2 separate regions of the Homo sapiens genome follow, and region 1 is linked to region 2. Evidence: promoter capture Hi-C in 16 types of primary human blood cells and fetal thymus (Javierre and others, 2016). All regions are on one chromosome and are shown on one strand. Each heading gives the region's core, a stretch centred on a gene start or on the middle of the fragment in contact. The rest is flanking DNA. Distances are from core to core; before and after follow the strand shown.

Region 1 (2,700 bases), core at 19-2,518, 550 kb before region 2:
CTACTGGGGAGGCTGAGGCAGGAGAATGGAGTGAACCCGGGAGGCGGAGCTTGCAGTGAGCCGAGATGGTGCCACTGCACTCCAGCCTGGGTGACAGTGCGAGACTCCATCTCAAAAAAAAAAAAAAAAAAAAAAAGATACAGCAGAGTGTTGGACATGCAAAGCCACTCCAAGGAAGCCTCTTAAACGCCCACCTTGTTGCAGGTGGGACGCTTATGCCCAGCTGCTCCAGCTGGAAAAGACAGGACTGCAAGTGGGTTCAGGAGCTCAGGCCTCTGAAAAGATGAGCAAAGGCGAGGCTAGTGGGTGAGGGGTGATTCAGCTGCAATTGCAGTTGACTTGGGGAGAGAATTTGTTAGGAGAGACAATGGACATTAATTAGGGTGGACTCTTCTTAGGAAAAGGCAGCCAGATATGGCATCGTTCTACAGCAGGGAATGGACCCTGAGCAATGATTTGGGGCTCAACAATGAAGGACAGGTCACAGCTTTGGAAGACAGGATTAGCAGGACTCACATGAGGCCTGAGTCCAGAGCCTCAGATCTTACACTGGCAGCACACAGGGACACAGCAACTAGACTGGGAGCAGCAGGGATTGCAGCAACTGGACTGGCAGCAGGATGACCCACAACCTGAGGAGGAGCAGCAGGGCTTACAGCAGCTGGACTGGCAGCAGTAGGGCTTGCAGCAGCTGGACTGGCAGCAGGATGACCCACAACCTGAGGAGGAGCAGCAGGGCTTACAGCAGCTGGACTGGCAGCAGGATGACCCACAGCCTGAAGAGAAGCAGCAGGGCTTACAGCAGCTGCACTGGGAGCAGCCACAAGAGCCACAGCCTCCTTTGGAGCCCCCACAGGAGCCACAGCCCCCCTTGGAACCCCCACAGGAGCCACAGCCCCCCTTGGAGCCCCCACAGGAGCCACAGCCCCCCTTGGAACCCCCACAGGAGACACAGCCCCCCTTGGAACCCCCACAAGAGCCATAGCCCCCCTTGGAGCCCCCACAGGAGCCACAGCTGGAGCAGGAACAGGCTGGCACACAGCAGCACACAGGTTTGCAGCAGCAGATGGGCACACAGCAGCTGGAGCCACAGCCCCCACAGCCGGAGCCACAGCCCCCACAGCCGGAGCCACAGCCCCCACAGCCAGAGCCACAGCCCCCACAGCCGGAGCCACAGCCCCCACAGCCGGAGCCACAGCCTCCAGAGCAGCCACAGCAGCCCATGGTTCTGGTGGATTGAGGGTGGAGCAGGTAGAGGAGCAGATGAGATGGAGGTGCAGGTGTGGAGCCCCCTGAGCCTGGACCCCCTTATATCCCTGGGTAGGGTTGCTCTGAGACCTTGGTCACTCCATCATTCCCAGCACTTCCTGGGTATGTGATTATTTGTTTGCTGGACTTCGGGTTCTCATTGGCCTGATCCAACACCCACCTGCTTATGTTTCTAAATGTAGTCACTTCCTCCTTGGAACTGGACCTTGTACTGAACTGATCACCTGCCTTCTGTTTTCCTCATGTGATGGGCAGAGGATGGGTTTTCTACAAAGATCATTTTGGTTGTTTTCTTCCCATCTTTTCTTCCCACCTATGGCATTATATTTTTCTTTGAAACTGTGAACTTTGTGTGAAGATAATTTTTTAAAAACTAAGCTTTCATCCATATAATTAAAGAGGCTAATTGAGGAACCAACGTTGTATCTTGGTTCTGTCTTAACACATTGGTGCACTGCAGTGAATCTCTCCTCCGCCAGCCTCAGGTCGTGGGGTGCTCAGGACTCCTGGCTGCTGCATACACAGCCTCACGTGGTGAGTATTGTTTATGTTAAAAATCTCAGGAATTTCATGGGTGGATGGGGGATCTCATTTATCATCCTGTTGTTAATCTCTTCAATTAACTATTAGTGAGGGTGATTCTTTTACTCCAATATAAATTATATACTTTTTTATTGGCCAGGCACAGTGGCTCACACCTATAATCCCAGCACTTTGGGAGACCAAGGTGGGCGAATCACGAGGTCAGGAGATCGAGAACATCCTGGCTAACATGGTGAAACCCCGTCTCTACTAAAAGTACAAAAAGTTAGCCGGGCGTGGTGGCGGGCGCCTGTAGTTCCAGCTACTCAGGAGGCTGAGGCAGGAGAATGGTGTGAACCTGGGAGGTGGAGCTTGCAGTGAGCCGAGATCATGCCACTGCACTCCAGCCTGGGCGACAGAGCAAGACTCCGTCTCAAAAAAAAAAAAAAAAAATTTATACCTTTTTGACTTCTCATTACTGCTTTAAAAGTTATTTGGATATTGAGAGAACAAATCCCTTGTGTTCAAACAGTGTACTTTGTTTTTCCACAGGCATGTACTTGAGTTTAATTTCTGACGTTTTTAAAAGCCATTCTCACTTTGTCTTAATTGTCATTTTTAGCCTCGCCAACATTATTAGATGGTATAAAAATGAATGTCTTTCAGCCGGGCGCGCTGGCTCACGCCTGTCATCCCAGCACTTTGGGAGGCCCAGGCGGGCGGATCACGAGGTCAGGAGATCGAGACCATCCTGGCTAACATGGTGAAACCCCGTCTCTACTAAAAATACAAAAAAAAATTAGCCGGGCGTGGTGGCAGACGCCTGTAGTCCCAGCTCCTTGGGAGGCTGAGGCAGGAGAATGGCGTGAACCCGGCAGGCGGAGCTTGCAGTGAGCCGAGATCGTGCCA
Region 2 (2,700 bases), core at 45-2,544:
TGGACAGAGGGGGACTTGGCAGACACCTGGGGCTCATCCCTTGGAGCTGAACTCCCAAGAAGGCTCTGGGCCCCTTGTAAGAGAAGAATCAGCTTCATCCTGAGCTTCCAGGGTTGTGGAACATGAAGGGGAGCAGCAGAAGCCCCTCCCAGAGTCCCCTCTTACTTACCCTTGGGGTGGGGGTGTAGGATGCAGCTGGGGCTGCAGTTCCAGGCCACGGAGAGCCTGTGAGGCTGGGCCCCGGGGCGCCCTGGGGAGGGGATGCCTGATGGGGAGCCTGGTGGGGGAGGGTAGGGGAGGGCGGGGGAGGACGGGGGAGGGCGCCCTGTGTCCCTGAGAAGGTACCTGGAAATGACACTGCTACAACTCACACCACATTTCAATCAAGGTCCATAAATAAAAACCCATTTTAAATGTGCCAGGGAGCCCAAGGTTCTGAGTGCCCAAGGAGGCACCGAAGACCCCTCCTGTGGGCTGAAAAGCTCCCGATTATCCAGCCTGGCCCACACAGTCCCCTGTACACAGGGCTTCCGAGTGCAGGTCACAGGGAACACAGACTCCATGGTGAATGAATGAATGAATGAATGAATGAATGAGGGAAATAAGGGAGGAACAGGCCAATGGGAATCACCCCAGAGCCCAGATACCCTTTGAATTTTGCCCCCTATTTGCCCAGGACCCCCCACCATGAGCTGCTGCTAGAGCCTGGGAAGGGCCTTGGGGCTGCCTCCCCAAGCAGGCAGGCTGGTTGGGGTGCTGACTAGGGCAGCTGGGGCAGAGGGAGGCAGGGGCAGGTGGGAGTAGGGTGGGGGCTGGGTGCAGCAGCCGGGGACCTCTGGCCATCTTGGATTTTTTGGATGGATTTGTTTCCACATTCCGATCGTTAAGATTCAAGATGAAACAAGACACAGAGACCCACACGACCCCCGAGAGAGGTCGGCCTAAGAGGGGCACACACAGGGACAGGCATCACCTCACCCTCCCCCAACAGGGACTCAAACACCAGGCACAGGGGATGCCGCTGTGCCCAGGCCTCCACATCCACGCCGCGTCCCAGGGGTTTGCATGGACCCTGAGCCTGGGGCTGCCAGCCAGGCTGGGGAGTAGCAGAGGCAGCTGGCACCAGCCCTGGGCTCCGGTCCACTGCGGCCGCCGGGCACCTACCTGCCCTCTTACCATGATGGCCTCTGCCTGCTTGGCGTCCAGCTCAGACACGGCCCTGCGGAAGCCCTTGGCCTGTGGCGTGGTGGCGTCGGGGGTGGGCATGGCTCAGTGTGGAGGTCCGGGCTCCGTCTCCACAGCCCTGGCCCAGCAGCCTCTTATAAGCTGAGCTGACGTCAAAGCCCCCTCTGGGTCCCCCACCTTCCCCTCCTTACATCCCCCACCCCTGCCTGCTGTGCCTGATGGAGGCGGGGGTGGGTGAGGAAGGAGGGAGGCGCAGGAGAAAGGGCTCGTCCGTGGAATCTAATTGCCTTCACTCCCCAGCCCTGTCTGAATCATCCTCAGCCCGCGGGCTTGCGGGGACCAGGGGCTCGTGCTCTGCGGGGGGCTGAGACAGCCAGGGTCCCCTTGGCCCCACAGCCCTCAAGAGAGCACACAGGGAGGGGCTTTCTGGCAGCCCAGGGGCACACTTTTAATGAACACCAGAACCTCGTGGCAGACCGACCCAGAAAGCCCCAAGACGGGGAATCCAGCCTCCAGCCTCAGATGTCAGGAGGCAATTTGTTTGCTTCTCCAGAAGATTCCAGGCCGTGTGTCTCATAGACGTGGTTCCTAGGAGTGCCATCTGCCCACAGCCCCCGGGCCCTGCAGGTGTGGCCCTTGCAGCGGCTTCCCAAGCTCGCCCCGTGGGGTCCAGAATGTCCCAGGAGGGCCCACCTGTCCAGTGTGGAGGACCCTGGGAGGCTGAAGAAGACATCTCTAAGGAGACGCCACGCGTTTCCAAATGGCTGCCACCTCCTGCATCACAGTCCCCACCAGGGTTGCCAGGGCGACCAGGGCCAGGGACGGCTTCCACCCACCCCACTCAGCCCCTCTATGGCCCACTGCTAGCTCCTGGCTTCCCTCGGGGTCCTGTGGCCCCTTCTTTAAAGAGCACGCACGTCCCTCAGTGCTGAGGGCCCTGATGCCTTCCCCTTGGAGAGACCTTTGCAGTTTCTCCTCTACCCCACCAGGCCCCGGGTTGAGGGTGACCCTGGGGTGACCTGAGAACTCCCTTGAGGACAACCCCAGCCTAGAGCCTCCCCCAAGTTCCATGTCCGCCCCGCAGGCACCCGCATCCAGCCCACGCCCACTGGCACCTCCTGCTCCCAGCCGCTGCCCCACCCAGGGAGAGTGATGCCCCTGCCCAGGGTGGCTTCTGGCCCTTCTGGTGGAAGGGGAGGCCTCCCCATCCCTCTGGGGTCAGCAGAGATGGCCAGAGCCTGCCTTGACAATGCTGGACTGTACAGAGGGAAGGACGTGGCCCCAGAGTGCATGGCCTGCGGCTGAACGCTGCCACCGCTGTCCCTCCTGGAGAAGAACCGTTTCCGACAGGGCTTGGGGCTTCCTGTATCTGCTGGGCTTTCTGGTGTTGGCAGCCCAAGATGACACCCTGGGCCCAGCAGGAGCCAGAAGCCCTAGACGCTCCCTGACTTCTCGAAGGCCTACCCCGGCTGGTCACTGTGGCAGCCAGAGCTGGCATCTCTCAGGGCCCACTCT

Evidence for each region. The method cuts DNA at HindIII sites, captures the fragments that hold promoters and counts their contacts. A CHiCAGO score of 5 or more calls a contact.
Region 1: the fragment with the promoter of KRTAP5-4 here is called in contact with the fragment with the promoter of TH in region 2 in 4 of 17 cell types (M2 macrophages, M1 macrophages, M0 macrophages and 1 more); the score reaches 10.3 in M2 macrophages.

What each region holds. Positions count from the first base shown.
Region 1 is chr11:1,620,870-1,623,569 of GRCh38, forward strand. KRTAP5-4 (keratin associated protein 5-4) reads right to left here and starts at 1,269. Exons shown (of 1, transcript NM_001347674.1): 1 at 89-1,269. The coding sequence starts at 1,224. The coding sequence ends at 538. The HindIII fragment of the contact is 2,450 bases long and covers 1-1,645 here.
Region 2 is chr11:2,170,521-2,173,220 of GRCh38, forward strand. TH (tyrosine hydroxylase) reads right to left here and starts at 1,295. Exons shown (of 13, transcript NM_000360.4): 1 at 1,177-1,295. The coding sequence starts at 1,266. MIR4686 (microRNA 4686) reads left to right here and starts at 2,543; the gene lies at 2,543-2,618. The HindIII fragment of the contact is 9,589 bases long and covers 1-2,700 here.